Regions from separate parts of the Homo sapiens genome. Here all the other regions are linked to region 3. The links are contacts of gene promoters, found by promoter capture Hi-C in blood cells and fetal thymus (Javierre and others, 2016). All regions are on one chromosome and are shown on one strand. The core of a region is centred on a gene start or on the middle of the fragment in contact, and the rest is flanking DNA. Distances in the headings are between cores, read along the strand shown.

Evidence for each region. Contacts are between HindIII fragments. The CHiCAGO score rates a contact against its expected background, and 5 or more counts as called.
Region 1: a fragment that was not itself captured here is called in contact with the fragment with the promoter of SYNCRIP in region 3 in 3 of 17 cell types (monocytes, total CD8 T cells and non-activated CD4 T cells); the score reaches 10.5 in monocytes.
Region 2: a fragment that was not itself captured here is called in contact with the fragment with the promoter of SYNCRIP in region 3 in 3 of 17 cell types (non-activated CD4 T cells, fetal thymus and M0 macrophages); the score reaches 8.9 in non-activated CD4 T cells.
Region 4: a fragment that was not itself captured here is called in contact with the fragment with the promoter of SYNCRIP in region 3 in 3 of 17 cell types (total CD4 T cells, monocytes and fetal thymus); the score reaches 8.1 in total CD4 T cells.
Region 5: a fragment that was not itself captured here is called in contact with the fragment with the promoter of SYNCRIP in region 3 in 7 of 17 cell types (activated CD4 T cells, monocytes, naive CD8 T cells and 4 more); the score reaches 22.3 in activated CD4 T cells.
Region 6: a fragment that was not itself captured here is called in contact with the fragment with the promoter of SYNCRIP in region 3 in 2 of 17 cell types (non-activated CD4 T cells and total CD4 T cells); the score reaches 5.9 in non-activated CD4 T cells.
Region 7: a fragment that was not itself captured here is called in contact with the fragment with the promoter of SYNCRIP in region 3 in 1 of 17 cell types (neutrophils); the score reaches 5.9 in neutrophils.

Annotation. Positions count from the first base shown.
Region 1 is chr6:82,228,578-82,232,371 of GRCh38, reverse strand. It overlaps IBTK (inhibitor of Bruton tyrosine kinase), which reads left to right. Exons shown (of 29, transcript NM_015525.4): 4 at 530-654. Among named protein-coding and RNA genes, the nearest start is that of IBTK, 17 kb to the left of the region's middle. The HindIII fragment of the contact is 1,716 bases long and covers 936-2,651 here.
Region 2 is chr6:88,964,374-88,968,045 of GRCh38, reverse strand. No RefSeq gene overlaps it. Among named protein-coding and RNA genes, the nearest start is that of RNGTT, 2.6 kb to the right of the region's middle. The HindIII fragment of the contact is 1,429 bases long and covers 1,605-3,033 here.
Region 3 is chr6:85,640,677-85,644,727 of GRCh38, reverse strand. It overlaps SYNCRIP (synaptotagmin binding cytoplasmic RNA interacting protein), which reads left to right and starts at 1,842. Exons shown (of 11, transcript NM_006372.5): 1 at 1,842-1,931; 2 at 3,277-3,436. The coding sequence starts at 3,289. RefSeq lists silencers at 763-1,782, 2,373-2,522, 2,743-2,792. The HindIII fragment of the contact is 3,992 bases long and covers 216-4,051 here.
Region 4 is chr6:82,249,758-82,253,240 of GRCh38, reverse strand. No RefSeq gene overlaps it. Among named protein-coding and RNA genes, the nearest start is that of IBTK, 3.8 kb to the right of the region's middle. The HindIII fragment of the contact is 4,001 bases long and covers 20-3,483 here.
Region 5 is chr6:89,083,287-89,087,155 of GRCh38, reverse strand. It overlaps PNRC1 (proline rich nuclear receptor coactivator 1), which reads right to left. Exons shown (of 2, transcript NM_006813.3): 2 at 1,996-3,403. The coding sequence ends at 2,960. Among named protein-coding and RNA genes, the nearest start is that of PNRC1, 4.5 kb to the right of the region's middle. RefSeq lists enhancers at 1,595-2,121, 2,122-2,649. The HindIII fragment of the contact is 4,237 bases long and covers 408-3,869 here.
Region 6 is chr6:89,141,226-89,144,716 of GRCh38, reverse strand. LOC101929004 (a long non-coding RNA gene) reads left to right here. Exons shown (of 4, transcript XR_942766.4): 2 at 884-970. It also overlaps a transcript of PM20D2 not described here. Among named protein-coding and RNA genes, the nearest start is that of PM20D2, 3.1 kb to the left of the region's middle. The HindIII fragment of the contact is 3,442 bases long and covers 1-3,045 here.
Region 7 is chr6:89,324,220-89,327,854 of GRCh38, reverse strand. It overlaps UBE2J1 (ubiquitin conjugating enzyme E2 J1), which reads left to right. Exons shown (of 8, transcript NM_016021.3): 8 at 1-1,230. Among named protein-coding and RNA genes, the nearest start is that of GABRR2, 11 kb to the right of the region's middle. The HindIII fragment of the contact is 4,319 bases long and covers 1-3,635 here.

The DNA.
Region 1 (3,794 bases), core at 544-3,043, 3.4 Mb after region 3:
CCTGTACAAAGAGTAATATCACATTTGCAACATTTAGAACCTTTGTATGTGTGGATTAATAATATCTTACATTTGATACAGTTCTATATATTATTTTCATGGAAACTAAGTAGATATGGCCGGTGGTGTTTTACTCATTTGGCAGTTAAACTTTAGCTGCTAAAGAAACAAGAAACAGCCTGGGCAGAGTGGCTTATGCCTGTAATCCTAGCACTTTGGGGGGCCGAGGTGGGAGGATCACTTGAGCCCGTGAGGTGAAGACCAGTCTGGGCAACATAATGAGACCTTGTCTCAATTATTAAAAAAAAACAACAACAAAAAAAAAAGAAGCAAGGAACAAATGTTTGATTGCTTGCATTGAGACAGGCCTGTACTATGATTTGGATTTTCTATTTCTAGAATTACCTAATATCATATTAATATATTCATTCAGAGAAGAGCGTTGGCATCTTTCTAAATATTGTAGTTAAATTAGTTCTTATATGTGTTTTAAAATATAAAAAAGTATAAAAACTAATTTTTATTTTAGATCCTACAGATGTTTATACTTGGGGCGATAATACAAATTTTACCCTGGGTCATGGAAGCCAGAATAGCAAACATCATCCAGAGTTGGTGGATCTGTTCTCCAGGAGTGGGATTTATATCAAGCAGGTATTTTTGAAGTACAATCTATATACTTTTAGAGATGAGAAAGAACTTTTGTATTTGATTGTTCAGCTTTTCATGTGGATTACATAACTTTGTTTCAGGTACAGTAACATTTTAATGAGGAAATCAATCAATAGAACTTTGCTAATTTTATTTTAGATATTGTTAGCCTTAATTATATTTAGACTTTGTAAAATACCCTAAAATATAAGATATTTGTGCAATTAGTGTTAGAAATTAGAAAATGTTATACAGATAGTAGTTTAATTTAAGAGGGTAAAGCTTCTCTTGATTTTCTAGCTTTTCTATTTAACAAACATTACAATTCTGTAAGCTGTTTCTCAAGTGAATTTGTTGTTGAAGCTCAGTGTTATTTTTGATAAGTGAACAACAGTTCTTTTTTTTTTGGTGGCATTAAAAAATAAAATAATTTCAATTTAGAAAACAACACACTTCTTGCAATTTTTTGTAACAAAATAATGTTTTTAGGTTCCAAGCTATTTATCATGAAGAGAATATGTTTAATCTTATGTGAAGTTGGATGACAGCAGTCTGGAAAGGCTATAGAGTTTTTTAACTGAGGGTCTGGTAAACTGCCAGTCATTCTATTTAATTATTTGTATTCACACTGACAAGCAATAAATAATTAAATGTCTAAGTCTCAGTTCTCAGTTTGGATAGTAGATAGAACTAAAATTTCATCACTTATGGAGACAGATAAGCAATGTTTTGGAAGTGTGGGGTTCAAAAATTTGCCCTTAGATGCTTAGGCACGAGTGATGCTTTTTGTGAACCTGAGTTCTTAAATGTAAGTAATTGTAAAATTTTAATAGATACAATTGTAAAGATTTGGTCTGTGGTCTTATATCCTTACAATGCATGATATCTTCTACTTCCCCAGATACAGCTACTGTTGACAAATCTTTCTGTATTACATTGTGTATATGTGTGTATGTATGTGTATCTCTAGCCCCAGTCTTTCTCTTGAACTTTATTTCAGTTGTACTGTGGGTATTCTTTCAAGATATTTAAATTTAGAATGTCTGAAGTGTTATTTTTGCCACTCCTAAACTACCCTATTCAATTTTTAATGTTATAAATCTCAAATTCTAAATCCTGAAGATGATACCTCAGAGCATGTCTATTTAGTTCTTTTCTGTCTCATGAACCTAGGTGCCATGTCCTTTTCAAGCTCTTTTTTTGGACAGTGACAACAGTGTCCTAATTTGACTTTTTGGCTCCATTCATTTCAACCCCAATAATATTCTTCTCCAGAATTATTTGTCTTAAAAAAGAGCTAATTATGTGTTTATCTACTAAGTCACCTTTGGATAAAGTCCAAACTCTGTGGCTTGGAATGTAAGAACTTTTTCAGTCTTCCTAAATTACCATTTCAACTTACATTTCCTACAACTTCCTAGTTATATTCTTTCTGCATTTTGAAGTTCATAAAACTTCTTTGATCCAGAATATGAGCTTGGAGTGTTTTTATCACTATAGTACTGGCTCTTTCCAACTTTCACCTATTATTTATATATGACATACATAACAACACTTAGTTTATATCCTGAGATTGAATTCTTAGACAGTTTTTAGAGCTACTTTGACAACATATCCCTAGTTTGCCCAGGACAGTTCTGGTTTATGATTATTTTCCTAGTGTAATTGTTAGTATCCCCTTTCATTCTCAAAAATGTTTGCATGATAAATAATATGACCACTATATTTAGGGCTCCATAGAACACTATTTTTTAAACTAAAAGTCACAACCTAATGCATCACAACCAGCAATTGAACAAAAAAAGCAATAGAATCCTTAAACTCTAGAGAATATTAAATTTTGAGAGAACAGGAATAAAAACCCATATAGGAATGAAAAGTGGCTAGAGAAGTAGGGAGTAGAATGGTGTCATGAAAGCTAATATTCTTGTGGGTCTTCTCTGTAGATGTGGAGGGAACTTAGGATAATGAAAGGACTTGTGATGGGCGAGAATCAAGCTTGGTGTCCAAGTCTTTAGTGAATGTGAGAGGGGTGAGCAAGATGGTGAGAAATCAGAGCAGGGGCAGCAAGTGTACAAGCTGCTCACCTAGTCTAGAGCTTTTTGCAGACATGCTAGTCAGTTTTTTTTTTCTCATGCTGAGCTTGAGTGGGTCCTCAGACTCCTCCTTAAAATGATAATCCAACCATTAGCAGCCACTAATGATTGATTGGAATTGTGGCACAAGAAAGACACCTGTTTTTCCTTTTTTGAGGTAGTACATGATATACCTTTATTTCATGAGCTGTTACGGAGCAGGGATTTTAAAGACAAGAGTGAGGGAATCATGATGGCATTAGGAAATCAGAGGGTGATTGAAATGTCTGATCCAAAGAAATATATAGTTTGGAATATTTGAGCATATTCCATTTGCCAGGGTTGTGAGTGAACTAGTGTACTCAAAGAGAAAGCCACATTTCAGGTAAGGCAAGGCAGTGGGCGTGTTTTGTGAAGGTATTAAGGATCTAAGGGATTTTATTTACCACAGAATGAGGGTGAAGCAAGCACAGTGGGTAGGTTTGAAGGAAAGAAATCAGTATAAATTTCAGTCAGGGAAGAGAAAGCAAGTATGGGAATATTAATTGAGTACCAGTTATATAGAGAGCCCCATTTGTTATTGAAAAGGGGCTGATTCTATATTATACAGTACCAAATTAATTAACTACCATGAGACAGAGATTATTAATGTTAGTATTATATATTCCAGATAATTAAAAGCGAAAATCCATGCTCAGTTCTTATTTAAAAATTCAGGGGTTTTAGGCTGGGCGCAGTGGCTCATACCTGTAATCCCAGCACTTTGGGAGGCTGAGGCGGGCAGATCACGAGGTCAGGAGATCGAGACCATCCTGGCTAACACAGTGAAACCCCATCTCTACCAAAAATATAAAAAATTAGCCAGGCGTGGTGGCGGGCACCTGTAGTCCCAGCTACTCGGGAGGCTGAGGCAGGAGAATAGCGTGAACCCGGGAGGCAGAGCTTGCAGTGAACCGAGATGGCGCCACTGCACTCCAGCCTGGGTGACAGAGCGAGACTCCGTCTCAAAAAAAAAAAAAAAGTCTGGGGTTTTTAAAGTTGGATAACTTAAAACTGTCTAGTATTGCA
Region 2 (3,672 bases), core at 1,070-3,569, 3.3 Mb before region 3:
ATTTTAAAGAAGCAAAAACTTTTTATAACCCTTTACAAATTTTGCTAAAGTGCAGATTAGTGCCTTAAGAAAACTTTGTTGTGCTTTTATTTCAATGCTCAATTTACTTTTGAATTTAGCCAATGTTCACACACAGCATTTCTTTTGCAAGATTAATTTTAACCTTCCAGAACTTGTTTAAACCTTTAGCTTTATCTTACCTAATTTAAAACAATTCCCTAACCCTAGGCAAAAATTTACATTTCCATGCCTTCCATTACCTTTTACTAAAAAACACATTTTACTGTTCTTACACACCTTGCATGTAAATCTATTTTCAGTAGTTTCAATTATACATTATAATGGTAACTCCTAGCAATTTTAACTTTAATGTAAAACCTGGTAAGTTGTTTTAATTGTGTGCCAGGTGCAGCGAAGTTTTGACTCCTTCTAGCATAATTAATGACATGGTTAGTTCCATATGTCCCCAGGCCTTATCAATTGTGAAGCCAGCAAGTCAGATAGTTCTCAAAACTCAAAAAGCAGTTTATAACATTAAAACATTTAGCAAGACTAGTACCTAACCTGCATAATTTAGTCCACCTATTTACATTTTGATGACATCTGTTTTTTACCAATAATCTTTAAGGCTGTTTTTATTTCTCAAAGATTAAAGTCACATGAACTGAAAGGTACCACATCTTTTACCTTCCCTTTAAAAAATATATGATCTAAGCACTTGTCTTCCTTTAGGCCAATTAGAGTTTTTTTTTTTTTTTTTTTTTTTTTTTGAGACAGAGTCTTGTTCTGTTGGCCAGGCTGGAGTGCAGTGGTACAATCTCAGCTCAATGCAACCTCTGCCTCCTGGGTTCAAGGGATTCTCCTGCCTCAGCCTCCCAAATAGCTGGGACTACAGGCACGTCACCACACCTGGCTAATTTTTGTATTTTTAGTAGAGACAGGGTTTCACCATGTTGGCCAAGCTGGTCTCAATCTCTTGACTCTCAAATGATCTGCCTGCCTTGGCCTCCCAAAGTGCTGGGATTACAGGCATGAGCCACCACACCTGGCCTTAGAGCTCCTTTTTTTTTTTTTTTTTTGAGATGGAGTTTTGCTCCTGCTGCCCACGCTGGAGTGCAATCTCCACCTCCCAGGTTTAAGTGATTCTCCTGCCTCAGCCTCCCAAGTAGCTGGGATTACAGGCATGTGCCACCATGCCTGGCTAATTCTGTATTTTTAGTAGAGATGGGGTTTCTCCAAGTTGGTCAGGCTGGTCTTGAACTCTCGACCTCAGGTGATCTGCCTGACTCAGCCTCCCAATGTGCTGGGATTACAGGTGTGAGCCACCGTGCCTGGCCTTTGAGCTCTTTTCATAGACATCATGTACACAACATATATATAGCTACACAGACAGGCAGAAGAAAACCAGTCCCCATAAGATCCTTTTTCACAACCAAACTTTAAGGAGAATATAAACAGGGATCCTTATCATTCCTAGCCTAGTGAAAAAGAAAAAAAACATCTGGTTTAAAAGTTAACTGTTGATGGGGTGAAGAAAAAAGGATGCCTGGGGGAATAAACCTTTTATTCTTAGGCAAATGGTTCCTCTACCAGGGAGAGAAGCTTATCAGATGGAGTTGAGCCTTGGCCAGGGAAGGGGAAGATGCTGTGGACATGTGGCATTCCCCAGCCCCAGCTGGGAGGGGAGAGGGAATGAGGAGCTGCGACTTGCCTATCCTTCCCAAAAAACGAAGGCAAAGGCCATGGAAAGGCCCCTGACCCCAGGGAGCGATGGGAGTGGGGGCATGGTTTCCCTACCCTCAGAAGTCCACGCATGAAAAGGCTTAGAAATGACAGTGAAAAGTTTTGAGTCCCCGTGTCACTCAACCGCTTCTCAAGCCCCACATTGGGTGCCAAAGCTGTTGTACGACTTTCTCCTTAGTTCAGCTAAGAGCTGGGTCCTGGTCACATGGCCATGAAATATTAGGCTCACAGATGCCTTGAAGGGTGAGAATGGAATTTATTGGGCAAAAAGAAAAAAAGGGAAACAGAGACTCTCCCCAAAGCCAGAGTGCTTCCTGCCTGGTAGACTGAATCCCAGGTTCCACCTAGGAAAAGGAGGGGCCAGGCTCCTCCCCACTGCAAATGGCGCAAATTTCCCAAGGCTCCACCACAGGGTGCATTCCTCCCAGTGCTCAGGTCAAAAGGAGATTCTGCCAAGGAATCCTTCCCACCTGGCTGTCTTACCAGCACTTTGGGAGGCTGAGGTGGGAGGGCTGCTTGCAGGAGTTCCAGACGAAAAAAGTATAAAAAAGTTAGTGGGGTGTGGGGGCCTGCACCTGTAGTCCCAGCTCCTTGGGGGCTGAGGTGAGAGGATTGCTTGAGCTTGGGAGGTTGAGGCTCCAGTAAGGCTGCCCTGATCATGCCCACTGCACTCTAGCCTGGGTGAGAAAGTGAGACCCTGTCTGCAAAAACAAAAGATTTATCTACATATCAAAGTGAAGAGGAAGGATTAATAAATATAGGTTTTTCTCAAGGAAAAGTCCTAGGAAAAGGGAAGACAGATAAGATCTCTCTCTTTTGCCAAAAGAGAACGTTCAATCTTATTTTTTACATGTACACACTCTTCCTTATGGGCAAAATGGATGTTTGATGAAAGACTCACCAATGAAGAGAATCTACATCTGATAAAGAGGAGATCAAGACATATCTGGGAGGGTGTCAGGGGTTCCAGGAAGCGGGGGAGGAATCATGTTGGTCTGTCTGTGAGCATCTATTTTTCTTCTCACAGAGTAGTAGAAACTTGGGACTAGGAGCAATATAGGCAGAAACACACATCAGGCAAGGCATTCCTGACAGGCAGAGAGAAACTGCCTGCTCATCGGGATGCCACTCTCCTACTCTACTCTCTATTGTGGACAAAAGGTAGCCACAGGGTCCTCCCAATTCTGTGGCAATGAGTATGGAGAGGGCATAACTGGATAGCAGAATAAAAATCCAGTGCACATTGCTGCCTTACAGCCAATAACAGTTGCTCGCCAGTGGTATGAAGCTTCTGTGTGCCTAGGACTGAGCTACTGGGTATAGCGTGTGTGGGAAGGGGAGTCACCAAGGGGAGTCATCCCCAGAAGGGGAAGGTAAGATACTCTTCCAGGATCAGGCTCACCTTTCCCATCCTTGGAGGGGGTCTGGGGATGGAAGGTTTTTACCACTTTGGGCATGGTACACACTCTATCAGCAGAAAAGGGAATTCATCGGAGATTATTTGGGTAGACTGATGGCCTTAAAGGAAACTGGGTATTATCTTGTTCTGTCAGGGGAGGAGTTTACACCTTCACTAACAGTTCTGAGCAGATGCAACAGCAGGACAGACCAGAAGTGTGACCTAACTCAGGCTGCCTCAGAGAGATTGCTGTTGGACTGCCTCTATTGATGGGACTCTTACTGAGGGGGTCCAGGCATTCAGGGGGTTGAGCGTCCCAGAAAGTTCCCCACCGACGCTTTAAAAATGTATTCCCTGCAGCCTTACGTTCTTGCAGTTCCAATATAGCATTGGTGTTTAAAGCCAAACTACATTATAATTGATTCGCCATCATCCAGCTTTATATTTAACACTTTAATCTGGTAACAAAGGAAAGGCTCGTTAAAGGACGGCATTTATAAAAATTTTTCAAGCACCTCTGCTTAACTCGA
Region 3 (4,051 bases), core at 593-3,092:
TGGTGGAGATCTCAAATCCTTACTAAACAGGTTGGCTATGTGGTGCTTTGGCTAAAACATACTTCATATCTGATCCAAGTAGCTATGAAAATAATCTAGCATTTTATGTGCTTGTGCACTTTGAAGAGTGTTTATCTAACTTTTCCTCAAACCACTGATTTGTTATCATAGCACAGAGCTCATCTGGGGAACCAGTAAGCTCTTAAAAATAAGCTTTTTAATCAAAAGGACATTGTTTCTATTTTTCATTACAGCTGCCCTGGATAAAATTAGTATCCATATCGCGTCTGTAATTCAAATGCCTTTGTCTTGTCTTTCTTGTACCTAGTAAACGATTATAAAGGAAACGTCATTTCACAGAAGATTTAGTTGCCAAGGTTTTTTTTAAAAGAAACACAGACATTTTTCTCAAAGTTGTTCTAACCACGCAGCTTTGTGCTGTTTCAAGTTGCTCAAACTGTGCCAGGAGGAAGCCCTTAACTGCTTAAAAGGCCAGGGACTGAAACGGAGTATTGCACAACCCTTCACCACCGGGCGGTTTCGCTTCCAAATCTGGCCTTCGTGTCATCCCAAGGCAGGAGCCGCTCCTCGCTCCACTGGAGCCAGCCCCGTTCCCCCTTCAAAAGCAGCCGGGGTTTCCGCGTCCAAGCCTGGGGCGCCCCTCCCTTCGCCGAAGGTTCCCGTGAAAGCGGAGCCGCGCGGCTGCGAGGAGGGCCCACTGTCCAGTTGGGGAGATCGAGTCTCCAAGGGCGACTCTCGCACTCGAGTACCGCCAGTCCGGCGGACCAAAGGTCCGCGGGTCTCCGCGCCGCTCCCCTCCCCCTTGGCCCCATTGTCTGCCTCGCCCCGCCCCGGGGGACACGTGCGCCTGCAGCTTCCCGAGGAGGAGAGCGCGGGGCGGTGGCAGCGGCGTGGACACCGCCTGGAACGGCTACGCGGCCGCGGAGCCGGGGGCGGGGGCCGGGCGCGCACAGACCGGTGGGTGCCCTCCGGGAAGCGGCAGTCGCACTCAGCGCCCACAGCACTCTGCCCCGCCAGCCCCGGACCGGGCAGGGATGGGGCGGGCGGGAGCTCGGTGGGGGTGGCGTGCGCATGGTGTCGCGGGGAGGGGGTGGGGTGGGGCGGGGTGGGGAGATGCCAGTCTCCTGACAAAGGAAAACGAGTGGGACACGCTGAGCCGGCCCGCCCCGCCTGGAGGGGAGAGGGAGGGGGAGTGTCGGGAGGGGAAGGGGCGGGCCTTTCATTCAGTCTCGGCCCCTCGGCCGCCACCGTCGGAGCGGAAGGGCGGGGTCTTGTGCCTCCCCCACCCCCAACCCAAGGGGTGAGGAGCGGGGAAGGCGGCGCGGCGTGGGGGCGGAGCCCGCGGGCGCGCGTCCCGAGGCGTAGGCTACGTTGTCACGTCAGCGCGGGAGAGAGAAAGAGAGGAGCCGACTCGGCAGGGACTGGGGGACCGGGCCGAGAGTGCGAGCGAGCGAGGGAGGGAGTGAGGGAGCGTGCGAGCCAGAAGGGGAAAGGCGGCCACTCGTGCCTGAGCGACCGCAGAGGGGAGTGGGAGCAGTGGGGTAAAGGAGCGGGGGGCGGGAATAAGAAAGGCCGAGAGAAGGCGGACAGAGGCTAGTGGTGGTGGTGGTGGTAGGGGGAGAAGGAGGAGCTGGAGGAGGGCAGGGGCTGAGGGAGTGAGTGAAGCGGACGCGCGAGGGAGGGGAGGGAAGGGAAGGGAAGGGAAGGGGGGGTCACGCGGGGGCGCGCGCGCGCACCGGGAGCGCGCTCGGAGGCGAGTGGAACTGGATCGGGTTTGCTGCCAGCGGCGTGAGCTTCGGCCGCCATTTTACAACAGCTCCACTCGCGCCGGACACAGGGAGCAGCGAGCACGCGTTTCCCGCAACCCGATACCATCGGACAGGATTTCTCCGCCTCAGCCCAACGGGGAGGTAACGACTGCCAGAACCTGGGTGTGGGAGGGGAGCTCCATGACATTGTGGAGTGAGCTGGGGGAGGGTGGCGCGGGTAGAAACCGGCTTTTCTGGAAAATGGATTCCAATGGGGAGAAGAGCACGTTGACTGGGGCTGCCTGGGAGTAGGCCGCGGCCCGCGCCGCCACTTCCTCCTTTCCATGTGCTGCTGCGGTTCGGGCTTTGTCTGCGGCGCTTTGGGAGGAGGCGCCTCCACGGTCCCGTGGCCCGCACGGACCGCGAGCGGCTTCAGAGTTGGTGCTGTCGTGGCGGTCGCCGCGGCGCGGGAGTGGGCGGAGAGGAGTGGGTCTTGTCCTGCAGCCGTGCGGCGAGCTTGGGCGGTGCTCACGGTCCCGCGGGCGTTGAGCCGTCCGCTGAACGCCCTCACGCTGCTGGGTTGCCGGGCAGGCGTCGCAGTCACTGCACGGAAGGGTAAGGGGTGGGGACCTGCACAGCGCGCCACGGGTCACGTCTCGGCCGGGCGGGCGGCCGGGGGTCGTCGGCGCCCGGGGAGCGCCAGGGGCGGAGAGCCATGTGTCACGGCGGAGACGGCGGCGCTGGGGGGCGGGGAGAGCCTGTGGCCTGGCGCCGCCGGTGCCTCGGTGTTCAGGGGAGAGATTGTGCTGCTGCAGCTTTCTGGGGGCTCCGACCGCGGCTTCGGGTTGATGTTGGGAACCAGTGATGGTCGTCTTGGTTTGGGATTCGTTGGGTTGCCGTTGAAGGAAGTTGTAGGACATTGGAAGGCGCAGAGCACGTGTTTCTAATGGGCTCCTGGCGGCCGCAGTGGTGAGACTGCCGCTCTGGGTGCGGAGTCAGGGGCGGGCTTTGGGGTGCGGGGTTAAAGGGTGGAGAAATTGGGTGGTGGGAAGGTGGCTTGTATGAGCGCTTTGTTCTTCGCTGGCTGTTGTTACCGATCTATAAGCGGCAGGCGGGAAAAGCGCGCACTTTGGGGGTTTATCTTTGAGAGAGAGGAGCCCAGTTTTGCTTTCTCCACACACACCTCATTTTCCGAACGGGCACAGCTGCATGTGGCACGCTGGCTCGTACCCGTGCTGATTGGGCTCTATTTGTAATATGGTTTTTCCTAGGGAGTGTTAGCAGGTGAGTCAGGGGTGGTGCTGAGGAAGAATATGGTGAATCGGTCCTTCTGTGCCCTGTGCTCCAAATCTGGCTTGTCAGGCGATAGTGACTGTAAGGCTTTTTTAAAGGGAGGTATAGGCTAGCTGGTGTAGTAAATGGTAGAGAAAGTAAAGATGGGGCTCTCATATTGTCTTGTATTCTTTTTGAAGATCCTAGTTTAATTTTGCTTATTGCGTTTGAACAGATCTCTGGAAACATGGCTACAGAACATGTTAATGGAAATGGTACTGAAGAGCCCATGGATACTACTTCTGCAGTTATCCATTCAGAAAATTTTCAGACATTGCTTGATGCTGGTTTACCACAGAAAGTTGCTGAAAAACTAGATGAAATTTACGTTGCAGGTAAGAACTAACACTTGCAAAATTACATTATGAAATTTTTCTATTGGATTTCTGGCTTTGAGCTAAAATAGCAACTTTTTGTGGTTTCCAATAAGTGTGGGTACTGGAGTTTTGCTTGTTGTGATAGTTGGTTAATTTAAGTTTGAAGTAGAGGTTAAGATGTATAGAGGGAGGGAAGAAGAGAAGGTTAGGAGCTAAAGGCTGGCTTGCATGCTGGCCTGATGGATAAGTATATGATAGTAGCAACAGCTGCTAAATGTTGGGAACAGGCCATGTGACTTTTTTGAGTATTTTTATAGTAGGATTCTTCTTAAATAACTTGGTAACTGTAGACTTGTTTTCTTGTCTTTCTGGTGCGGCTGTTAACTTTTTCTGGTGGTATTTGAAATTGAGTAGAGGTTCAGTTGTCATGCTTGGTACTTTGTTGGTTGATTCTAGGATTCGTAAGTCTGTATACTGTAAAAATACCGTAGTGTTCAGAGTTATCAGACTTTGGAGATAAAAGATGTAAAAGAAGTTAGCTGATTATTGTAAGTGTGGTTGGTAGGGCATATTTAGTTCAGGATTCAGTTCAGAGTGGCTGAAGTGTGTGTTTTTTTTTTTTCAGGTATAGAT
Region 4 (3,483 bases), core at 771-3,270, 3.4 Mb after region 3:
TTGGATTTTTATGGAAGCTTCAGGACATCAGCATTCCTTCCCGCAGGGTATAGGGTGGGACTCTCTCGTGGGAGGGTCTTAAGACCCAGAGTCAGAAAGGTGCGGAAACTATGGAAGAAGGGCAGGAGAAGGTCAGAGGCCTGTTCCTGAGGTCTAACATACCCAACTTTATAACAAATGACTGTAACAAGGGCTATGGGAGTTATGAGCCAAGAGCTGTGGATGAAAACCTATATATATATCACAACACCACAGGCTGTTACTTTTTCCCAATCTAGCCTCTTATCCACTTTTCAAGGACTCTTCATAAGTTCTGGACCTTCAATGGCCAAGGTTCTTGTTTTCCAATGCACTGATAAGTTTAAGTATGTTAAGTATGTTTTCTTTTCTTTTTTTTTTTTTTGAGACAGAGTTTTGCTCTTGTCGCCCAGGCTGCAGTACAGTGGTGTGATCTTGGCTCATTGCAACCTCCATCTCCCTGGTTGAAGTGATTCTCCTGCCTCAACCTCCCGAGTAGCTGGGATTATAGGTGTCTGCCACCATGCCCGGCTAATTTTTGTATTTTTAATAGAGATGGGGTTGTACCATGTTGGCCAGGCTGGTCTCAAACTCCTGACCTTAGGTGATCTGCCTGCCTTGGCCTCCCAAAATGCTAGGATTACAGGTGTGAGCCCCCACACCCGGCCTAAGTATGTCTTTTCTATCAGTCCTAGGGATTTATGGCATGAAGAGAAGGCTCCAACCACTATGTATCAAACTCACTCTTTTTCTTTCTTCTCTCTCTCTCTTTCTAATAGTGACAACACAGATTTAATTATTTAGCTAAGTAGAAAAGGAATAGGAGCAATTCTCAGTAAGATGGGCTGAGAAAGGCAAATGATACATTTTTCAGTCATCGTAAAGGGAAGACTTTTAGGAGTTCAGTGTTCTGATTGTAATAGAATACTAAGCCTGTTAAGTTTATAAGTTTGATTTATCTCAAAGTTCTGCTTATTTCATCTAGGCTTTGAATTTACCTTGAATTTCTCCAGTATTTGCCTTGAATTTCAGATTTTTTTGGTGGACTATGCTTTTAAACATAAGATTCTAAAGTTACATTCAAATACTGCCACCTTGTGGGTTATTCTTTGTTTCCCCATCCCACCCTTTAATTTGGTGGAAACAGATTCATCCAGGCAGTTCATTTCAGGTTATGTCAATTAAGTTGCTAAGAGTTGTACTAAGAGCTTCATATATATAATATATACATTATATTATATATATATATAAAATCTCATTTAAACTTCTTAAGAACTTTATGAAAGCAATACTATTAACCCTATTTCAGAGATGAGGAAACTAGGCTTAGAGGGTTTATGTAACTTGCCTGACATCTCACAGATAGTAAGCATAGGAGTAAAACTTTATATCTGGGCACCTTGCCTCTAGAATCCTTGTCTCCAGGAGTAAAACTAACAAATCTAAAAATAAAACAGTGTGATACATTATATGACTAAGTGATAGAAGCAGTATAAAGGGAATAATTGCTAGGAAAGGCCATCCGGAAAGTCTTCACAGATATGTGGGGAGGTGACCCTCTGTAAGTAAGGATTGGAAAGATAATGATTCTATAGGAAGAACGCAGCTGGGACCATACACCTGAATCCAGAAGAACACAAACACCCTATGTGGCCTATTGTTTTGTCTGCCTCACCCTGCTTTCTTTTGGGGAACTACTCTTCACTCTGCTTTAACCATGACTCTAATAGAGGATGTCAATCATGTTATCCTTGATTCCTCACCTAATCCAAGCCGACATGAGTCCGTCAGGTGCCTAGAACTTTTGTGCTTGAGATAATAGGCTCAGTGCTATCTTCCCTAATGGCAAACCTGAGGTGAGATATGTGATTTATGTGAGGTACTTAATTTGTGTGCCAGAAAGTTGTAGTCAACCAGTGATGTCCTGTAGAAGATGGTGTGGAGTAGAAGAGAATGAGGCTAAACAATAAGGTTCCAGTCATCTCTAGGCCAGCTGCACTATTGATCTTCCTCTAAAAATCATTCTTGTAGAACCTAATCAGGTTTGGGTTTCTAATCAAATTCTAGTGTTTTCTCTTCTGCCACCAGCACTGTCATTTCCTACTCCTATACAACTTGAAAGACAGCAAAATACACATAATGATGTCAGTACTTTTAATTATAAAGGATAGTACTACCAATTTATTTTGGAAAAATGGTATTTAGGGAGTTTATTATAGATGCCATGTGGCTTAGAAATATTTCTGCAGTGCTCCACTCTTGATGCCTGTACTATTCTTTTTCTACTCCCTCCGCCCATCACTGCAATCTTTTTATTTATTTATTTATTTATTGAGACAGAGTCTCGCTCTTTCACCCAGGCCGGAGTGCAGTGGCGCTATCTTGGCCCACTGCAATCTCCACCTCCCAGGTTCACGCCATTCTCCTGCCTCAGCCTCCCGAGTAGCTGGGACTACAGGTGCCCGCCACTGCGCCCGGCTAATTTTTTTTGTATTCTTTAGTAGAGATGGGGTTTCACCGTGTTAGCCAGGATGGTCTCGATCTGCTGACCTCGTGATCTGCCTGCCTCGGCCTCCTGGGATTACAGGCATGAGCCACTGTGCCTGGCCCATCACTGCAATCTTTTAAAGTCATCTCTGGTTTTTTTATTTTTTACTTTAAAAAATAAAACTACTTTAGAAACTCTAGTCAATTATTTTTCCAAACTTTGATTTTTTTAATCATTCAAGTAATATTTAAATTATTGCAATGAAAATTACAAAAGTCAAAATGATAGAAATTAAGAATCACCCATAATCCCACCATAGAAACAATCATTGTAGATATATTTTGACCTATTCTTTCATGTGTAAACACAAAATTTTTTTAAAAATCAAACAAAATGGCTCATTTTGATTTCTTCCTCCCTTAACCACATCTACAATATATTTTTCATTTAATTGTATTTCATTTGTACTATTTCCTAATTATTTTAATATTTTGTCTTGCAAATAACCAGTAAGTACTTTTGAAAGCATCTAACTTTCCTGGGAAAAGGGGAGCAATTCTACATTCCTTTGACTGGAATGTTATTTCTTTCCTGCTTCATCTACTTATCTCCTCGTTATCTAGTTATCTGAGTTATCTTCTGCTCAGTCTTTAGTTCATGTGTCACATCTTTTGGAAGTCAGATAAATCTATCAGATTAATACTTATAAACGTTGCAATTTATTATGCTTGGGAATATCTGGGTCTACATGTATTTTTGTTCACTGTTGGATCCCCAATGCTTACCACAAATTGTCCGAGACCTGGTAATTTTAACTTTTATTTATTACTATTTTTTGAGACAGGATCTCACTCCGGTTGCCTAGGCTGGAGTGCAGTGGCGTTATCTTGACTCGTTGCAGCGGCGTGATCTTGACTCACTGCAGCCTTGATCTCCTAGGGCTCAGGGTATTCTCCCACTTCAGCTTCCTGAGTAGC
Region 5 (3,869 bases), core at 1,277-3,776, 3.4 Mb before region 3:
GACAAAAAGAAAAGGATAGAGATAAAATATTCCACTCTCATTTCCCTGTTGTAATTACTGCTTTGTGCACTATTTACCAAAGCCATACCTCTGGATCTGACCTATTTTCTATCTACTTGCTGTGCCTTTCCACATGGATGTCCTAGAGGCACCCCAAAGTTCAACATGCCAAATCAAAATGACCTTCCTTTATAATTCTGATCCCCCTGCAATCCCCTAATTGGTAGATTTATCCTTCAAGTTGCTCAATTTCAAGTCTTTTCCTTACCCTCTATTCAGATGCTCAATCCTCAATTCTAGCTCTAAAACATTCCCCCAAATAAGCCCATACCTCTGATAATGCCCTCTAGGCCCTTTTCTCTTTTGAGCTACTGAAATATCCTCACCTAAGTAATCTGTTTCAAGCTTTCCCTTATCAAGCTGTCCTCCATATTTCTACGTTTTCTTTTTGAAGCAAGAATTCCATTCCCTTACTCATAAACCTTTGAGAACTGCCATGCTTACAAAATAAAGTTGAAGCTCTTCCGCGTGACACTGAAGGCCCTTCGTGTTCTTACCCCAATATACCTTTTAAAAACTTCCCTTCCTTTCTTGCATTTCTCTTAAGCTACTGGACATTGTACATTTTTTTTTTTTTTTTTTTTTTTTTTTTTTTTTGACATGCAGTATCACTCATCGCTCAGGCTGGAGTGCAGTGGTACAATCTTGGCTCAATGCAACCTCCGCTTCCTGGGTTCAAGCGATTCACCTGCCTCAGCCTCCCAAGTAGCTGGAATTACAGGCACCCACCATCACACCCAGCTAATTTTTTGTATTTTTAGTAGAGACAGGGTTTCGCCATGTTGGGCAGGCTGGTTTCGAACTCCTGACCTCAGGTGATCCACCAGCCTCAGCCTCCCAAAGTGCTGGGATTCAGCGTTGTGCATCTTTTTACACCACCATCTGCTCAAACTTTTACCTCACAATTTTTTTCCTTTTTTGTGTGTCAAATACTTATCTTTTAAGGCTCAACTCAATTTTTTTTTTCATTTTTTTGAGATGGAGTCCTGCTCTGTCACCCAGGCTGGAATGCAGTGGCGCGATCTCGACTTACTGTAACCTCCGCCTCCCGAGTTCAAGCAATTTTCTGCCTCAGCCTCCTGAGTAGCTGGGATTACAGGTGCCTGCCACCAAGCCCGACTAATTTTTTTCTATTTTTAGTAGAGACAAGGTTTTACCATCTTGGCCAGGATAGTCTTGAACTCCTGACCTCGTGATCCATCCGCCTCAGCCTCCGTAGGTGCTGGGATTACAGGCGTGAGCCACCATGCCCAGCTCAACTCACTGTTACTTTCTAAGGTGTCAGATTCCCAAAGAGAAAATTTTCTCACCAAAATTAGTCCCTTCACCCTAAGAGACTTTACCTTTTTCTCTCTTCAGGCATTTGTTGTTGTAGAGTGGGGAATATAGCTTGTATTTTAGTTATATTTGTCTTTTCTCCCCATCCCACCTAAACTTTCAGCTCTGCCATTTATCCTTCTATTTCCTGAACATACGTTACACATAAGCCCTCACACATTAAACTGCAGACATACTGCTCAAAATGACAAGAGCTGAGAAATGTTGGACAAGGAAAGAAGGGTGGTTGAGGCGGTAGGACTTATATTACATTGTGTAGGAATTTTTATAACCATGTGCAAAAATGTGTTGTTAAAACCTGTTAATGTGTCCCTTTCTAGAATCACAAACTGATTTGGGAGAGATGTCAGAACTCACTGTAGTCAGTCATTAGTATTAATATTTACAACACATTACTAACAAAAGCTAAAATTGGTGACTAAAAATTGGGGGCATCTTCAAACTAAACTTCTAAATGAGCTTCCCTTCCATTTGTGAGGAAGGTGTATCTGCATTTGTAAGGAAGGAATGGTGACTCACACAAAACATCAAACAGAAGTTCCTTTGTATATTCGATCTTCTTTACTTGACCTGATTGCTTAACATTCCCACTCAAAATCTGTCTCCCTTACTTTCTCTTGGCCTTTTTTTTGAGACAGCGTCTGTTACCCAGGCTGGAGTGCAGTGGCCTGATCCTAGCTCAATTGCAATCTCCACTTCTCAGGCTCAAGAGATGCTCCCGTCTCAGCCTCTAGAGTAGTCAAGTACTATGCTCAAAAACCTCAATGCTGCTCCTGGTAAGAAAATGTAGATTATGGCCAGGCATGGCGGCTCACACTCAGCCAGTAAAGTAGAAGTCAAAAAAATCCAACCACACAAAATCATCTCCTAGTCACACATTCAAACATGAGAAACAGTCACACACAAAGAGTCAAGACTATTTTAAAAGGGGGGGCCAAATTATTATTATTTTAAAATTTGATTACAACCAATTTTGTTGGCATTAAAATTAGAGGCATTAAGCTGGAATGGATATATACCAAAACCAGAAATTGAGTTTAGCAAAAATGGGAATAGGAGTTGTTCAGTAATTTCAGATTACAAATCAATTTAGAGAAACAAACCCCATGCTTACATTGATTGTGCCACAGATTTAAACTTCAGTAGTGCATTAGTAAACTGTTCACATTTAGATCTTCACCTTGAGATTTGACAGCTGTTTCTTGAAAAAAATCTCAGTACCTTGTGCAAATAAAATCGGTCTTCCATGTGCCTTAGCACACACTTAAAATTTATCCATTGTATATATACAAAACACCTGCAATGTGGGCAGGGCAAAATACATACTTTCATAACAAAACTATAATATACCTCTCAAGTATGAACAATATACACATAATACATGGTATACAGTATTTACAAAATATAAAATATAATACAAGCTGTTTGTATGTAATTTTTTAAACTCATCTTTTGCAATTGTATGTTGCAACAAGGCAAATTTCCATTTCTGTACCAATTTTCTCAAGAGTCCAGGGATATGGGAAAAATTATGTTTTACACACATACTGAAATCTGAAATCTAAGTTTGAACTTTGAGGAGCGTTTTTAAGTGTACTGCCATCAGCTCCCTGTTTTGGTTGGAATTTTCAACAGTGCTTCCCATCCAGTGACTAGGAGGCTTTGGAAGAACACTAGGAGAAGGTGGATCACTAAACTTTGCCCCAGCATAATTTTCCTTTTGGCTCACTTCAGTTAGAAATGCTGATTTCTTCAAATGCGAATTTTTAATGTTCTCGGTATTTTTAAAAGGCTTTTTTTCCTGCTTCTGAATTCTGTCAGATGAAACAGAATCCTGCCAAAAGTTGTTTTCATTTCTTTTTGCAGAGGTGATCTTGGTTAGTGGCAAGTTATATTTGCTTTTCTGTCTGTTTATCTTTGGTTGCTCATACAAGTGTATACCATGAACAAGCTGGCCATGGGGAAGGGCAATTTTCTCCGATTTTCCCATCTTTGATTTTAAAACCTACAAAGACAAGAACACAAAAGTAAATATAGTTTCTAGATAAAAATCAGTTATGAACCTCATATCACATATCTAGTTTTGTTGTGTTTAAGTTTGCCCACAGCCATAGAAAAGAACAAAATTATGTTCTTTGTGACAACACGTATGTAGCTGGGGGCCATTACCCTAGACGAATTAATGCAGAAACAGAAAACCAAATATCGCAAGTTCTCACTTACAAGTGAATTTGGGAGCTAAACACTGGGTACAACATGGATATAGTGGGGAACAACAACAGACACTAGGCACTACTAGAAGGGGGGTTGAGAGAGAGATGGGGACCTACTGGGTACTATGCTCACTACCTGGAATGGGATCATTCATACTCCAAACCTCAGCATCACGAAATATACCCATGTAGCAAACCTGCACAAGTACCTCCTTGATCTAAAATAAAAGCTGAAAATTACAAAAACTTTAATTGGGC
Region 6 (3,491 bases), core at 75-2,574, 3.5 Mb before region 3:
GGATTGGAGAGCAAAAGCAATAGGTGACATTTGTAGAGCAATTACTCTGTGCTAGGCACTGTTCCAAGGGCTTAGCATTTGTTAACTCATTTAATCCTCACAGCAAACTATGAGGTGGTTAATGTGGTTATTTATCTTCATTTTACAGATGTATGTCCAAGATTATAGAGCTAGTAAGTAGTGGACCCACTGTAGAACAGAAGCCAGAGTCAGCCTCCAGTGGCTGACTTTCAGCCACCATGGTCTATTGCTTGTGTAAACAGACATGCAAATTCATAAATGCATCTCCAGTTTATCTATTCAAATCAGAACCCACAACACTCATTTTGAATAAATTTTACTGCAGCAACTCTGCCTGCTGACATCAGTAGAACCCATGTTTGCCCTCCTCAGGCATCAATAAACAGCAACAGAAAAGGGATGCATATAATTTCATATAGAAGCTGCTATTTATATTGCTTTGCAGGAATTAACAAAGCTGCCACTTGAGGTAGAGGAAAGACAGATTCATTTCAAGCTCTGTTCCTTGTGTATATATGTGGGTGGGTGGGTGGGTATACATGCCCACAGGCACGTATGTATTCAGTTTCTACTGTTGACACCTTGTATTTCTTGCTCATGGTATTTTGCACCCTTGAATTCATTTATTTGATAAACTGTGATAACTTGCTGACCGTTTATCTTCCCCTCCAGGCTTTAAACTCTTTTGTTTTCCCACTGCATTCCCCAGCACCTAACATCTTATGGTCAGCATTTCCTCTGTGTTAATAAATATTTGTTGGCTGATTATTCTTCTTGAATCTAATAAACTAACTGAATAATGGCAGCAATTAACCATTAAACGACACTGACTACCAATAGACATTGTTATGCTTCTTCCTAGACTTCTCAGTCCTTTATGTGGAGCTGGGGGCAGGAAGAATTGCTTCTGGAAGCTGATGGAGTTGGACATGTGGCTTTCTAGAATCTGGTCAGCTCATAAATTCTTACTATTACTTTCATTTGTACCCATAATATTCATACAACTGTCTACCCTATCTATGTGCTACTGGTAAGGAACCTGTATGTTTTTATTAGAAACAAAAAAAAATGTATACAAGCTCCCTTCCTTTAGCTGGTGCTGGATCTGAGGAAACAATACAATATCCAGAATTTAGTATTAAGATGTATAACCTTTTTGGGGGGGTGAGAGGAGTGCAGATAGTTCTCTCTTGAGGACTGGTTTTAAAGTATATAAATGTTCTTTCTTGGCTCCTGATGAGAAAAAAGGGGAAAAAATATATAAAGATTCCTCTTCTTTCCTGGCTGCTTAGAAAACCAGCTGTCATCACAACTGACTCAATAACTTTGAGAACAGGACATTCATGACAAATGAGTGCTGTGGTGGAAAGAGTAGATCAAAAATTTCCTTTACCCTGGAAAAGCAACTAAAATACAGCCAAATTGTACAACTATACTGGGTATTATTTTGGGCTTCAGATTCAGAACTCCTTTTGAAAAGGCAGCAGGCTTTTGTATGGTTTATATTCTTTGAATTAAGATAGAAATAATAAAATAAAATCCCCAACATGGCAAAGCATGAGCTCATGGCAAAGCATGAGCTAAATGAGAAAAAAAAGTTTTTGAAAACAGAAAAAGGAATGGAATGAAAAATAAAATGAAGAAAATTAAAGGTAGAGAAAAAGTAAATAGAAGTACCAGAGAGCTTCAGTGCAGGATTTCAGGAATGAAAAGCAAACAAACAAAAATAATTGTGGGGGGCCGGGCGCGGTGGCGCACACCTGTAATCCCAGCACTCTGGGAGGCCGAGGTGGGTGGTTCACGAGGTCAGGAGATGGAGACCATCCTGGCTAACATGGTGAAACCCCGTCTCTACTAAAAAATACAAAAAATTAGCCGGGCGTGGTGGCACGCACCTGTAGTCCCAGCTATTCGGGAGGCTGAGGCAGGAGAATGGCGTGAACCCGGGAGGTGGAGCTTGCAGTGAGCCGAGATCGCGTCACTGCACTCCAGCCTGGGTGACAGAGCGAGACTCCGTCTCAAAAAATAATAATAATAATAATAATTGTGGGGGAAAGGAATAAAAAGTGCAAAAATGATTTAATCCAAGGAGAGAGTGCAGATATTTCACCAAAAAAATCAAACTTATAATACCTTCAAAATATATGATATTTCCAAAAGTGCATGTGAATCCAGCCTACATCGTTTCAGTTTAACAATACTTGGAACTACAGCAATTTTCTCCTGAACAAAATGCTGGCCACTGCACGATTTGAGGACTGCTGCTGCCAGCATGGAGAAGAAGCAAATCACAGTGTCACTTTGGTATACTGGTCATTTACAACATTCTCCTAAGCATCCCCAGACACACATGCAAACTTGGTTAACTCCAGAAACTTCTCTAGCTGAAACAAACACGTAACACGCACTAGATAGCACATGTAAAATCAATCTGGGCTAAGGTGTTGGAAGAGCTGGTTGTCATATGGCAGAAAGCAGACAACTAAGAGAGTAGGTGAGCAGAAAGGTGAATTTGATTGGGGATGAAGGGACATAGAGGAAGTGTACAACACATTGCTAAGGAATTACAACTTTAGCTGGTTTTGGTGGCTCATGCCTGTAATCCCAGCACTTTAAGAGGCTGAGGTGGGAGGATAGCTTGAGCCCAGGGGTTCAAAACCAGCCAGGACAATATAGGGAGACCCTGACTCTACAAAAAATAAAATAAAATAAAATAAATAGTAAATAAGCCAAGCATGGTGGCACACATTTGTGGTCCCAGCTCCTCTGGAGGCTGAGGTTTGAGGATCGCTTGAGCCCGGGAGGTCAAAGCTACAGTAAGCATGATTGCACCACTGCACTCCAGTCTGGGCAACAGAGTGAGACTTTTGTCTCAAAGTAAAATAAAACTTGGACAATGGCTAAACTATTGGATGTTATTAAGCAGGAGAGAGACAAGATCAGAAATTTGTTCTACAAGAATAATTGATGACTATTTGGAAGATGAATTGGAAACAGACTTAGGTCTGAGATAAGTTAAAAGCTTTTGCAGGCCAGGCGTGGTGGCTCACGCTTGTAATCCCAGCACTTTGGGAGGCCGAGATGGGCGAATCACTTGAGGTCAGGAGTTTGAGACCAGCCTGCCCAACATGGTGAAACCTCATCTCTACTAAAAACACAACAATTAGCTGGGTGTTGGGGCGGGCGCCTGTAATCCCAGCTACTCAGGAGGCTAAGGCAGGAGAATCACTTGAACCTGGGAGGTGGAGGTTGCAGTGAGCCAAGATTGTGTCACTGCACTCCAGCCTGGGTGACAGAGTGAGACTCTGTCTTTAAAAAATAATTTAAAAAATTAAAAATAAATAAAAGGCTCTTGCAAAGTCCAAGGATTCCAGAAACATTCCGTGGGCAGAAATGGCCAGACTTAATTCCTCACTGAATGTCTGTTTAGGTGAAGAAGGTGCTCCAGAGAAAGGGGGAAAGAGAACTGA
Region 7 (3,635 bases), core at 299-2,798, 3.7 Mb before region 3:
TCATATGAGAAGAAAGAAATCCCCACCACCTCAACCTCTGCTGAGATTGTGTGCTAGGAACAGCCTTCCCTCCGTTTCCCCTCAGTCAAACTTGAGCCAGCCTCTGGATCGATGTGATCTTATTGCATGTTTCCATGGGGTGTACCTATACTTTAAGCCAATCCTGCTGCATTCACTGCTAAGTTAAATAAAAAGCCAAGAAGATTTTGCACTGTGCAGATCCTTTGCTATCTGACTTGCATCTCTTCCCCCACCTGTCAGCTAGCCACCTGCTTGTTTGTGTTGGGATATTTTTTAGCACCTGAAGCACCATCTGAAAGGGGCACCATTTTCTTCTTCCCTTTGATCTCACATATGCTCCCTAAAAATCCTTAAGTTGTCAATCTGATCCCCAGTGTGAGGTTAATGAGCAAAATTGGTCTTTGGGGCCCTTTTTGTCCAAGCCCCACTGAAAGGCCTCTTCAGAAAACTATTATCTTTAAAGCCCTACTTTAACTCCTTAATTCCAGCATACAGCTAAAACTGGATGTATATTCTGGCAAGTAAAGGCTGAGGACTCCTCTTTAATCCTCAGATCTAGATAACTCATGACATTTTATTTGACCAACATAGCACATGATGAGATATCAAGGTAATTAAAATAGCATGCTTGAAAAAAAAATACGTAATCTGTTTCACCTGTAACTGTTTAAGCCAATAAACTTTTCAAAATTTATGTAATGTGGGGCTTTTATGTAGCACTTTACGTTTTCATGCTGCTTATTGTTTTATTCTACTGAAAAAAATGAATTTCAAGATTCTCAACTTTTTTAATTTCAAAAATTGTTTATTGTTTTGACTATAGGAATACAAAATTTCCTATTTTGGGAGAATAAGAACTCTTTTTGTCATTTTTGGCTATGAATAAACTTTCTGGTCTTTTGAGACCACCCATTTTTATAGATCAGAATCAGAAAACAGGTAAACCTCACTCACACATTTGGACTCATTTGAACAAAAATCTAGGCCAAAATACTGAAAAGCCTATGTGTTTTTTTAATTGGAAGTATATGTAAGGTTAATGCATTTAGTGAACGTGACTAACAAAGACTAATGTGCACATTAACAGATGTACTTTTTAAGGTTTTATGGGAGGCTGTGCATTGCTCAAAAGCTGTTGGGAACGCCTTCTGAACAGTTGCCTTCAGAACTAGTTTGAGCTGCTCAATAAAACCAGTGACTTTACTCATACCTTGTTTTTGACCAAAGGTTGTATTCTTTACATCATCCAGTCTTGTCTCTCATCCATTCTACCTCCTAGAATATTTCTCTCTCATCTTTCCACTTCCCTAACTAGGCACTATATCCTATTTAGCTATTAACTCCTCCAAATTGGTGCAGTAACCTCCTAACAGGTCTCTAGTCTCACCCCATTCCTTACATTGCAGCCAGAGTTTTCAATATACAGACCTGATCTCTTCTCTCCTGTTGCTCTTAGATAGGGTGAAACCCTTAACATAAAGCACAAGGCTGTGCATGACTAGAGTCCCACCTAGGTGTCTGGCATAATCAGACCTCAGCAAATGCCTTTGGGGCCTTCCCACAGCTCTGACCTCGATCCACTGGGGCTATACCCTGCCCTGAGAAAAATGAGTAAATAAAGTTATACCATCCACTACCTCATACACCATATAAGAAAATTAACTCAAAATGGATCAAAGGCCTAAATGTAAGAGTTAAAACTATAAAATTCTTGGAAACTTAGTAAACGTGACAATGGGATATGCAGTGGTTTCTTAAATATGATATCAAAAGCACAAGCAGGTCTGGCATGGTGGCTCAGGCCTATAATCTCAGCATTTTGGGAGGTGGAGGATCACTTGAGGCTGGGAGTTTGAAACCAGCCTGGGCAACATAGCAAGACCCTGTGTCTACAAAAAATTTAAAAAAAATTAGCCTGTAGCCCTAGCTATGCAGGAGGTGGAGGTGGGAGAATTGCTTGAACCCAGGAGTTTGAGGTTACAGCGAGCTGTGATAGCACCACTGCACTCCAGCCTGGGCCACAGAGCAAGATCGTACCTCTTAAAAAAAAAAAAAGAAAAACACAAGCAACCAAAAAAAAAAGAAAATTATATTTCTTTAAATAAAAAACTCTTGTGTATCAAACAACACCACTAAGAAAGTGAAAAGACAACACAATGGGAGAAAATATTTGCAGATCACATATCTAATAAGGGACTTGTATCTGAAATATCTAAATAATTACAATTCAGTAATAAAAAGGAAATAACCTGATTTTAAAATGGCAAATAATTTGAATAGAGATTTCTACAAAGAAGATATCCAAATGCCCAATAAGCACCTGAAAAGAAGCTCAACATCCTTAGTCATTAGGGAAATGCACATTAAAACCACAGTGATTCCAGTTTACACTCACAAGGATGGTCAGAACAAAAAAGCCAGATAACAAGTGTTCGTGAGGATGTGGAGATATTGGAACTCGCATACATTGCTGGTGGGAAGGTAAAATGGTGCAGCCACTTTGAAAAACAATTTGGCAGTTCCTCAAAAGGTTAAATATAAAGTTACCATATGACCCAGCAATTTCACTGCCACATATAATATCCAAAAGGAATGAAAACATTTACACACAACCTTGTACACAAATATTCATAGCAGCATTATTTTTAATAGCCCCAAAGCAGAAACTCAAATGCCCAGCTGATGGATAAGCAATATGTTGTATCTATACATACAACATATTGTATGTATATGGAAATGGAATTGTATGTCTATGGACATATTGTATGTCTATGGAAAATGGAATATTATGGCCATAAAAAAGAATGAAGTGATGATATATGCTTCATTGATGAACCCTGGAAACATTACGCTGAGTGAATGAAATCAGACACAAAAGGCTGCATATTATATCATTCTAATTACATAAAATGTCTAGAATTGACAAATTCATAGAGACAGAAACTAGTGTTGGTTGCCAGGGGCTGAAGGGAATGGGAAAGGGGAATGACTTCTAATGGGTATGAGTCTTCTTTTAGGGGAGCTGCATAACGGAATATTCCAAAAGCCACACATTAAAGGGGTGAGTTTATGGTATGTGAATGATATTTCAATAAAGTTGTGATTAAAAAAATAATTATACCATCCTACAATGGTTTTCTCCTGACTGTAATTACAATAATTGAACTATTGATAAAAGGGCTTTAAAGTAAAAAATTGGTAGGACCTAAAGTTGTCTACATGCAACAAAACAAATATTTATTGAAAACCACCACCTTAAGCTGCCTTTACAAAAATTATAACTGAGAAAATTATGACAGTAAAAGAGATCTGACCTGACTCTTATCTTGCTTCTGACCTCCCAGCTGCCCTTGTTCATTCCTGAGCGTAGGTTAAACTAACTTTGGGAGGAACTTAGTTTATAGTTTAACTTTGAAACAAAGACAGTAACAGCCCTTTTCCAAAACAAGCCCTCTATCCACCAAATTATCTTGAAAAGCCACGATCGCTGAGTTTTCCAGGAGTCTGATTTGAGTAATAATAAAACTCCAGTCTTCCATACAACCAGCTCTGCATGAATTGAACTCTTTATTCCAATTCCCCTGTCTTGATGAATTGGCTTTGCCTGGACAGTG